3 separate regions of the Homo sapiens genome follow, and all the other regions are linked to region 1. Evidence: promoter capture Hi-C in human tissues and cell types (Jung and others, 2019). All regions are on one chromosome and are shown on one strand. Each heading gives the region's core, a stretch centred on a gene start or on the middle of the fragment in contact. The rest is flanking DNA. Distances are from core to core; before and after follow the strand shown. Region 1 holds the start of APOL2 (apolipoprotein L2). Region 2 overlaps LOC284912 (a long non-coding RNA gene). Region 3 has its middle 66 kb from the start of MCM5.

Region 1 (3,595 bases), core at 500-2,999:
CAGCAAGAAAAAAAAAATAATCCCATCAAAAAGTGGGCAAAGGACATGAATAGACAATTCTCAAAAGAAGATATACAAAATGAAATGGCCAAAAAAATATGAAAATGTGCTCAACGTCACTAATTATCAGAGAAATGCAAATTAAAACTGCAATAAGTTGCCACCTTACTCCTGCAAGAATGGCCATAATTTAAAAATCAAAGAAGAATAGAAGGGTGCAGTGGCTCACACCTGTAATCCCAGCACTTTGGGAGGCCAAAGCAGGTGGATCACTTGAGGTCAGGAGTTCAAGACCAGCCTAGCTAAAATGGTGTGAATATGGTGACAAGGGAAAACTTTTACACTGGTGGTGGGAATGTAAACTAGTACAACCACTATGGAAAACAGTATGGCAACTCCTTAAAAAACTAAAAGTAGAATACCATTTGATCCAGTAATCCCACTACCGGGTATCTACCCAGAGGAGAAAAGTTATTATATAAAAAAGATACTCGCACATGCATGTTTATAGCTGCATAATTTGCAACCGAAAAAATATGGAACCAACCTAAATGCTCATCAGCCAACAAGTGGATGAAGAAAATGTGTGTGTATATACACACACACACACACACACACACACCCCTATATATGTATATGCCATGGAATATTACTCAGCTGTAAAAAGGAAGGGAATAATGGCATCCGTAACAATCTGGATGAAGTTGGACACCATTATTCTGAGTGAAGTAACTCAGGAATGGAAAACCAAATATTGTATGTTCTCATTTATTAGTAGGAGCTAAGCTATGAAGACACAAAGTCACAAGAAGGATACAATGGGCTGGGCGCCGTGGCTCACACCTGTAATCCCAGCACTTTGGGAGGCCAAGGCAGGTGGATCACTTGAGGTCAGGAGTTCAAGACCAGCCTGGCCAAGATGGTGAAACCCCATCTCTACTAAAATTACAAAAAATTAGCTGGGTGTAGTGGCAGGCACCTGTAATCCCAGCTACTCGGAAGCTGAGATGGGAGGATGGCTTGATTGTGCCACTTGAAGTAGCTATGATTGTGCCACTGCTCTCCAGCCTGGGCTACAGAGCAAGACTCTATATCAAAAACATAACAGAAAACATAACCTCAGAAGCATTACAATAAATATGCAATAAGCATCCACCCAGCATGTGTGGGGGACTGTGCTGATGCTGATGGCATGTGTGGGAGTAAGGCAGGCATCTGAGGAATGTGGGGGAACGGAAGGACGGGGAGTAATCTGGAGAGCCCCACGGTCAGTCAGTGGCAGGTCTTTCTTGAGCTCAGAAAGGTTAGGTAACTAGTTCAGATCAGACAGTAAAACAGGGGCAGAGCCTGGAATTGCACTGAGGCTTGAGTCTGACTTCTCTCCCCCACCTGCTGTGCCCTTAAACTGCAGAGATCGGGGCGGGGGTTGGGGGGCAAGCGGCTCAGATGGGTTCAAAAAACTCCCCAGGCTCAACTCTGGTTCTGACTGCCTGAGACATGGGCAGCTGACACAGCAGACCTTGAATCCTGAGGATGTGAGGCAGGTGGGTTGGATGAGAGGGACCCGGATGTCTGGTCTGCGGCTGCTCCTCTAAGTGCAGCAGCAAGGAGGCTGGGCCTGGACTGCAGGTGGTGCTGGGGAGCAGCGTGTTTACTGTGCTTGGTCATGAGCTGCTGGGAAGTTGTGACTTTCACTTTCCCTTTCGAATTCCAGGGTATATCTGGGAGGCCGGAGGACGTGTCTGGTTATTACACAGATGCACAGCTGGACGTGGGATCCACACAGCTCAGAACAGTTGGATCTTGCTCAGTCTCTGTCAGAGGAAGATCCCTTGGTAAGTTGGGGATAGTGTGATCTACCCCCATGTCCTTATTCTTGCAATAGCTCTATAAGGGAAGGATCATTCAGCTTTTGTAGATAAGCTCAGAGAGGTTAGGTAGCTGGTTCAGATCAGACAGGAAAGCAGTGGCAGAGCCGGGATTTGCACCCAGGCTTGAGTCTGATTGCTCCCTCCCTCCTGCTGGGCGGGTAAACTGTAGAGAGAGGTGGGGAAAACAGCTTAGATGGGTTCACAAAGCTCCCCGGGCTCAGCTCTGGTTCTGACACCCTCAGACACGGCCAGCTGACCCCAGAAGAAAGGTAGGTGTTGGGGGTGCCCATCTCTTTGGGAAATTTGAAGGAATCAAAGAAGGTGGAGGAGGGGAGGTGACCTGGAGCCCGGCATGTCCTTGTGGCCGGGCCACACCCAGGCTGGCCCCAGGGTGCTGCTGCTGAAGCCCAATGGGAACAACAGATTTCTTTTGAGACACAAGGAACTCAGAGGTTGTCTCACTCACCCTGAGTCTGAGCACCTACTTGTGCCAGGCCCTGTGGGGAAACTGAGGCCCTGGGAGGGGAATGACTTGCCAGGGTCCCGTGTCAGGAGGCTGAGCAGGCAGATCATAGGACTTCACGTCTCTGGCCCTCACCTCTGTCCCTCTGTTCAGACCTCTGAGCTGATAGAGAAGAAACAGGCTGTGCTGTGTCCCTAATGGGAAACATGGCTGAGACAGGGGAGTGAGAAGGTCGCATTGCAGAATGGTACCTGTGGCATGATGCCAGCTTTGCAATCATGAGATTCAAAAGCCACACTGTGGAATTGTGAGTATAACTACAGGAGTGAGAGCTTAGGTCTCTGTGTTTGTAGAAGCAGAATCAAACCTGGACACTGTTGGATTATTAAAATCACCCATTTTTGCTTCAATATCAGAGTCACAAGGGCAGATGTTGGCCTCCCCTCTGCCCTCCAAGAGCTGTGTGACTCTGGGCAAGTCACCTCCCCTCCCAGCCTAAGATTTTTCCCCTCTAAAAAACTTGATAGAGCTGCCAAAAGTCCATGAAATCAGGGGGGTAATTTCTGTGAAATATGAGTCATGGTCTTATTTGTTCTTCACCAAAAAGAGATGCCCATCAAGATAGAAAGAAAAATTAAATTCAATTTCTCAACTGAAAGTGAAACTGAAGCTGGGCCATGTCATCCAGAGGCTGGTTGCTTTTAGTTCAAGTAATGCCTCCTGCACCTGGGATTTCAGCCAGGCTGTGCCAGGGAGGGCGGAGGGCATCCAGGTCAGTCGTAGGGGGTGCAGCTGGGAACACAACAGTGTCCCCATTGAATGTTCAGAGTCTAAAGGGGAGACAGAGGCCCAAAGAGCCACATACAGGTAGAGCTCCCTCTGGAAAGCAGAGTGCTCAGGGAGCCTGGGGAGGGTTGGGGGCCGCCGCATGGACCAGGCAGCTTTGGGTGGGTCTCTGAGGACAGGTGACTTGCACATGGTGGGGACAGTGGGGGGGACATTCCAGGGCGAGGGAGCAGCTGAGTGAAGGCCTGAGGCTGGGGATGGGAGTGGGAGGAGTAGATGGGCTCCAGGAGGCACCGAAGCAGGGCGTCAGTGGGTGCCTGGACCTAAGGTGACTGTGGTGGCAGGGAGCGGTGAGGAAGGTGGGGTCCAGAGCATCAGAGGGCCTGTGTGCCCTGCTATGGGGTTTGAACTTGACCGTGGCTTTTCACTGAAGATTCCTCAGAAGGGTGCAGTGCCACGGCTGAGGCCTGTAATT
Region 2 (3,295 bases), core at 621-3,120, 610 kb after region 1:
TCACTGCAACCTCTGTCTCCTGGGTTCAAGTGATTCTCCTGCCTCACCCTCCTGAGTGGCTGGGACTACAGGTGCCGCCACCACGCCCAGTTAATTTTTTGTATTTTTAGTAGAGACGGGCTGTCTCTACTTTAGTTGGCTGGGCTGGTCTCGAACTCCTGACCTCAGGTGATCCACCCGCCTTGGCTTCCCAAAGTGCTGGGATTAACGGTATGAGCCACCGTGACTGGCCCACCCCCAACTAATTTTTATATTTTTAGTAGAGACAGGGTTTCATCATGTTGGCCAGGCTGGTCTCGAACACCAAGACAGCTACATTTTGAAAGAGGGACATGTGGAGGGAAAATTCTAGAACACAGGGTGCATTCCTCCCAAGGTAACAGCCAAGCCGAAAGTAGAACAGAATCCTAGGCCCTTGGGGAAGGGGTCCTAAGTGTTTGCATCCTCACAAGTAGCCTGCTTTACAGTTTACAAAGCACTTTTCCATCCATTATTCACCTGTCCTGGGTGGAAGGCATTTCCTTTATTCAGCAATTATTACCAAGTACCTCCTAGTTAAGATGGTCATGAGGACTAAATGAGCCACTGCTTATAAAGGACTCAAAGCTACTGGACCCAGACAGGCCAGTGGTATGTGCTTAGGGTGTGGCGCCCCAAGTGGTGGTGGTGAGGCTGGCATTGTCATGAACTTGGCCCTGAACTGAGCAATGGCAACGCAAGATAGATACAGTACCTGCCCTCGCCGGCCTCACAGCTCTTATTCACTCATCATGTAACAGGTAAAATTTTAAATCATTTCAACGCAGATGTTTTAAAAATGTGTTTTCTTTATTATCTATAATTGAGACCAATAGCCCATGTGTATTGAGTGCTTACTCCGTACGAGGTATAGTTTTAAGTATTATAAGTAGTTCAGATTTCACAACACCCTCTGAGGCAGGTTCTAATTACTGCTATTTGACAGATGGAGAAAGGAGGAACGGAGGGATTAAGTAACTTTCTCAAGGTCACACAGCAAGCAGTGAAACCAGGATTCAAATGCAGGTAGTCTAGCTCCGGAATCCACACCCTTGACCACTGTAAGACACTGCCTCTTGTTTTTAAGCTTCTCTCACTGCAGCGTGTCAGGGGGCAACTTAGATGAGCCAACAATGGCATCTTAGTCTTCCTGGTATATACTCAGTATTTCAGTTTCCTCCTTTGGCTACCTCCACACCTACTCCTCTCCAACATGGTGCTGGATAGATGGGAGGAGAGCAAAGGCGGGAAGATGGGCCCTTGGACAGGTGTGCAGATGCTGGGGCGTCCCCAGGTCCCTGCTCTCTGCTCCAGGATGACTGTTTTGTTCTGGGGACCTGGACGCCTGCTGAGGTGTACCTGGTCCACCGGGCCTTCTGTGGTCTTGTGCTGTCAAGTTCATGGCCAGGACCTTTTGCGTCTACGTGCTGAATCTTTGGGCTCAGAGCTCTTTTGTCTCAATTCCCAGTTTTCCAGGGACCACCAGCCACCTCCACAACTCCACCTCCCCTCAGCGGAGCACCCGGGAATGTCAGACCCTGCACGATACCCTCAATCCACGGGGAACCAGCAGGAAAAGCTCAGGCTTCTCTGCTTAGATACACTGTCTCCCTTCTCTCTTTCTTCCCTTAATGATAGGATCCCCAAGTTTTAGCTGTGCCATGGCCACATAGTTAAAGAGGCTTCCCAGCCTCCCTTGCAGCCGGCTTTACCATGTGACCACATTCCAGCCAGTGAGGACTGAGCTGAGTGTGGGCCTTCCCTTAGGAGGGGATGTGCCCTCCCTTCCCAGTCCTCCTTGCTGGCTGGGGCTGGAATGTGGATGTGTGGGTCGGGGCTGAGCAATGCCACAGGAAGAACCAGGGCTGCTTGGTGGAGCAGCCCCACAAGGCTTTTAAGCCTGGGACTGTTCCTTGAGAGAGAAAGACATTTATGTGTACTTGAACTTACCATTATTAGCCTTCAGAAGAGCTCCCCAAACTGTGTCGTATCCAGTTCTGTCCCAGGCCATCTTAGTGCTCGCACATCATGGGGGCAGGGTGGAGTGGGACTCCTTCTCCTCCTCCTCCTCCTCCCCTCCTCCTCCCCTCCTCCTCCTCCCCCCCTCCTCTTCTCCTTCCCCTCCGCCTCCTTCCCTCCTCCCCTGTTCCTCCTTCTCCCCTCTTCCTCCTCCTCCTCCCCTCTTCCTCCTCCTCTCCTCTCCCTCCTCTGCTCCCCCATCTCCAAACTAAGAAGGCCAAAGATCCCCCAGCGAGGCAAATCCCAGCTACCACATAAGCCACACAACTGTCTTTTGGCTTCCCCTGCGGGGTCGTGGTGACTAATTTTAACTGACCCTGATGATTCATCCAGGATGCCTGGGAACCCCCACCCCACCCCACAACCACAGCCACTCCTCAGGGCCTGCTGAGAGCCGCCAACATTCTTCAAGTTCAAAATCATTCCCCATGCCCTCCAAGCCTACATTCCAACTGCCTCCGTGACCCATCCTCTTCACAAAACTTCTGACCCAGCCAAACTGGTCTTCTCTGGGTTTTCTGAACATTCCACGTGCATTCCTGCTTCTCTAACTTTGCTCTTACCACCTTTCATGCCTCTATTGTGCCATCAACCCTCTCCCCAGCCCCTGGAACCTGCCCCAGCGCCTGTGTATTTGATCAGTGGTGATACAGCACTCACTTGAAAAAGTATTGAGCACCTATTATGTGCTGTGTGGAATATTAGGGTGCATTCTTTATATAAATATTTTATTCCCAGCTTCCCTTTCTCATCTTTCCACTAGATTATTATTATTATCTTGGGCCATGACTGGGCAGGCAATGCCGTACAGTCACCAAACCCTGTTTCATTTCCTCCTGGGCACACAGAGAGACCTCATTCCCACAACTCCCTCCAAGTAAGCGGTGCCTGTGGCTGTGATCTGGCTGATGGAATTTGGGCAGAAGCAATGAGCACCACTTTCAGGCATACCCCCTAAAACCCCTTACAAGATCCTCCACCCTTTTTTTTTTTTTTTTTTTGGGAGATGGAGTTTCACTCTTGTTGCCCAGGCTGGAGTACAGCGGCGTGACCTCGGCTCACTGCAACCTCCGCCTCCCGAGTTCAGGTGATTCTCCTGCCTCAGCCTCCCGAGTAGCTGGGATTACAGGCGCCCACCATGATGTCAGGCTTATTTTTGTATTTGTAGTAGAGACAGGATTTCACCATGTTGGCCAGGTTGGTCTCGAACTCCTGGCTTCCAGTGATCCACCCACCTCTGCCTCCCAAAGTGCTGAGA
Region 3 (3,436 bases), core at 614-3,113, 770 kb after region 1:
CCTTCTGCCAGGGGAAGGAAGTCCACTTCTTAAGCCTGGCATCCAGGGATGCTGAGGGGCTGAGATTAGAGAATTTCGGGGGGGTGATGGAACTGCTCCGTGTCTTGATTGTGGCAGTGTTTGCGTGACTTTGTTTTTCAAAACTTGTAAAACTGTGCACTGAAAAGAGGCAAATCACACCTCAAAAAAACCTAAAAGTCATATTTATAAATATAAATAAGCATAAGACTTGAAAAAAAGGAGATGGGGAAACTCTCCAGGACGTTGTTCTGGGCGGATTTCTTGAAAAATACCTCACAAGCACAGGCAACCAAAGCAAAAATGGACAAATGGGATCCCATCAAGTTAAAAAGCTTCTGCACAGCAAAGGAAACAATCAGCAAGGCGAAGAGACAGCCCACAGAAGGGGAGAAAATATTTGCAAACTATACATCTGACAAGGGATTAATAATCGAATAGATAAGGAACTCAAACAACCCTATAGGAAAAATCCTAATAACCCAGTTTTAAAATGGGCAAAAGGCTGGGCACAGTGGCTCACGCCTGTAATCCTAGCACTTTGGGAGGCCAAGGCGGGCAGAACACAAGGGCAGGAGATAGAGGCCACCCTGGCCAACACGGTGAAACCCTGTCTCTCCTAAAAATACAAAAATTAGCTGGGCATGGTGGCGCACGCCTGTAATCCCAGCTACTTGGGAGGCTGAGGCAGGAGAGTCGCTTGAACCAGGGAGTTGGAGGTTGCAGTGAGCCGAGATCGTGCCACTGCACTCCAGCCTGGCGACAGAGGGAGACTCCGTCTCAAAAAAAAAAAAAAAAAAAAAGAATGAAATCCTGTCATTTGCAACAACATGGATGAAACTGGAGGTCATTATGTTAAGTGAAGCAAGCCGGGCACAGAAAGACGAACTTCACATGTTCTCACTTATTTGTGGGAGCTAAAAATTAAAACAATTGAACCATGGAGATAGAGAGTAGAATGATGGTTATACGCTGGGAAGGGTAGTTGGGGGGCAGGGGAAAGTAGGGATGGTTAATGGGTCCAAAAATATAGTAGAAAGAATGAATAAGGCCAGGCATGGTGGCTCACACCTATAATAGCAACACTTTGGGAGGCTGAGGCAGGAGGAATTTGTGAACCCAGGAGTTCAACACCAGCCTGGGAAACATAGTAAGACCCTGTCTCTGTAAAAAATAAACAAAATTAGCCGGACATGGTGGTGCACACCTATAGTCCCAGCTACTTGGGAGGCTGAAGTGGGAGGATTGCTTGGGCCCAGGAGGTCAAGGCTGCAGTGAGCCATGATCACAGCACTGTACTCCAGCCTACGTGACAGAACAAGACCCTGTCTCAGAAAAAAAGGAATGAATAAGATCTAGTATTTGATAGCACAGCAGGGTAATTATAGCCAATAATAATTTAATTGTACATTTCAAAATAACTAACAGTATAATTGGGTTGTTTGTAACACAAAGGATAAATGCTTGAGGTAATGGATATCTCATCTACCCAGTAAATATATACACCTACTATGTACCCATAAAAATTTTTTAATTTTTTTCAATAAATAATTTAAAAAGAAAGAGCGGCCAGATGGATGGCTCATGCCTGTAATCCCAGCACTTTGGGAAGCCGAGGCAGGAGGATCACTTGAGCCCAGAAGTTTGAGACCAGCCTGGGAAACATAGCAAGAACTTGTCCCTATAAAAATAAATATATTTTTAAATTAGCCAGGCATGACTTTGGGAGGCTGAGATGGATGGATCACTTGAGGTTGGGAGTTTGAGACCAGCCTGGCCAACACAGTGAAACCTCATCTCTACAAAAAATACAAAAATTAACCTGGCATGGTGGTGTGCGCCTGTAATCCTCAGCTACTTGGGAGGCTGAGGCAGAAGAATCACTTGAACCCGGGAGGTGGAGGTTGCAGTGAGCTGAGATCGCGCCACTGCACTCCAGCCTGGACATCAGAGCGAGACTCCATCTCAAAAACAAACAAACAAAAAAACTAGCCAGATGTGGTGGCACATGTCTGTAGGCCCAGCTACTGGAATCTGTAGTCCTAGGATCACTTGAGCCCAGGAGTTCAAGGTCGCAGTGAGCTACGATGGTCCCACTGCACTCTACCCTGGGCAACAGAGCAAGACCTTGTCTCAAATAAATAAATAAAAATAAAAGGAGAAAGACCTAACACACTGAGGAGGCCGAGAGGAGCCCTGGCCACCTCGGCACTCATAGGCCCAGAAGGTCAAACACCAGCCCTGGGCTCCTGGCCACAGCCCTGCAGTGCTACTCAGGACCGCAGGGAGGACACTGAACCATAGGAATTTGAACACCTGAAGCCAGTGTTCAAAGAGGCAGCAAGACCAGGCCCCAGAATGCACGGATGCTGGCCCCAGCCACGGCCCCTGTGAAAGCTGCAGGCCCTGGCATTCACCCCAGGCAGCTGGGGAGCAGGCTTCCCAGGACAGCCTGTCCACTGTCGATTGCCTCATCCAACCCAGCCACGCATCCAAATACTCCTAGGACCCAGTCCCTTTGCCCTGCAACCAGACATCCCTCTCATCTGCTTGGGACTCTCCACCTCACTGAGCCTTTGTCATGTGTGAGGTCCCAGCTGGGTTTCTTTTCATCCCAGATAAGAGGAAAGTGGGGTCTAGAAAGGCTGAGTACCTGCCCACAGTCCCCCAGCTGATACAGAAATAAGACCGAGGCCAAGCTCCTGACCGCCATTATCCCATTAATCTTCACATCAACCTTGACGGAAACACTGTGAGTGGTCTTATTTTATAGATGAGAAAAATGACACACAGAGAGGGTAAGTTGCCCAAAGTCACACGGTAGTAAAAGGCAGAGTTGGGACTCAAACCCAGGAGACTGGCTCCAGGATACCACTCTCAGCCACTATCCTCTTATCCCCCTGAAGAGGGCAAGCTGCCACTACCTCATGCCACTGCCTAAAGAGTGTGCTTGGAGACTTTTACTGTCCTTGGTGGTCCACTGTTACCCCAGGCACCATTCTGCTAATAGTTGAGTTGGCAGAGTGGAGTAGTTGAGGCAGTCCGTGGAAGAGTGTGACTCTCCAGTGTAACCCCAGCTACAAGGGCCTCGCTTGGTTTTGCCACAGCTGAGTGAGTTTAGGAAGTTACTTCACAGCCCTGTGCCTCCAGGGGCCACACCTGTTTAAGGGATGCTGGCAGCAGCCCTACCTCTAATTAGTCATAGGTATCCAGGGCACATAACTGCACCTGGTACAGGGCAAACCTCCCCCGCAGAAGTGTTAACCAGTGTTGTCCTCACTGGCATCATCATTACTGTGTGAGGGTGGGAACAAAATACAAAACAATATGGTCTCCCTACTGCCAGAATCCAAAATAATGATCACTCAACTTCCAGGTCTCAGCAATAGCTTCCTGCCACACATGGGGCAGCTGCTCT

What was found. Contacts are between HindIII fragments. The study calls those that stand out against the background at their distance.
Region 2: a fragment that was not itself captured here is called in contact with the fragment with the promoter of APOL2 in region 1 in 1 of the 25 tissues and cell types used here (H1 embryonic stem cells).
Region 3: a fragment that was not itself captured here is called in contact with the fragment with the promoter of APOL2 in region 1 in 1 of the 25 tissues and cell types used here (dorsolateral prefrontal cortex).

What each region holds. Positions count from the first base shown.
Region 1 is chr22:36,237,681-36,241,275 of GRCh38, reverse strand. APOL2 (apolipoprotein L2) reads left to right here and starts at 1,749. Exons shown (of 5, transcript NM_030882.4): 1 at 1,749-1,835. RefSeq lists enhancers at 1,461-1,510, 1,521-1,770, 2,308-2,822. The HindIII fragment of the contact is 12,319 bases long and covers 1-3,595 here.
Region 2 is chr22:35,629,163-35,632,457 of GRCh38, reverse strand. LOC284912 (a long non-coding RNA gene) reads left to right here. Exons shown (of 4, transcript XR_001755514.1): 3 at 965-1,044. Among named protein-coding and RNA genes, the nearest start is that of MB, 13 kb to the right of the region's middle. The HindIII fragment of the contact is 7,418 bases long and covers 1-3,295 here.
Region 3 is chr22:35,464,353-35,467,788 of GRCh38, reverse strand. No RefSeq gene overlaps it. Among named protein-coding and RNA genes, the nearest start is that of MCM5, 66 kb to the right of the region's middle. The HindIII fragment of the contact is 6,473 bases long and covers 1-3,436 here.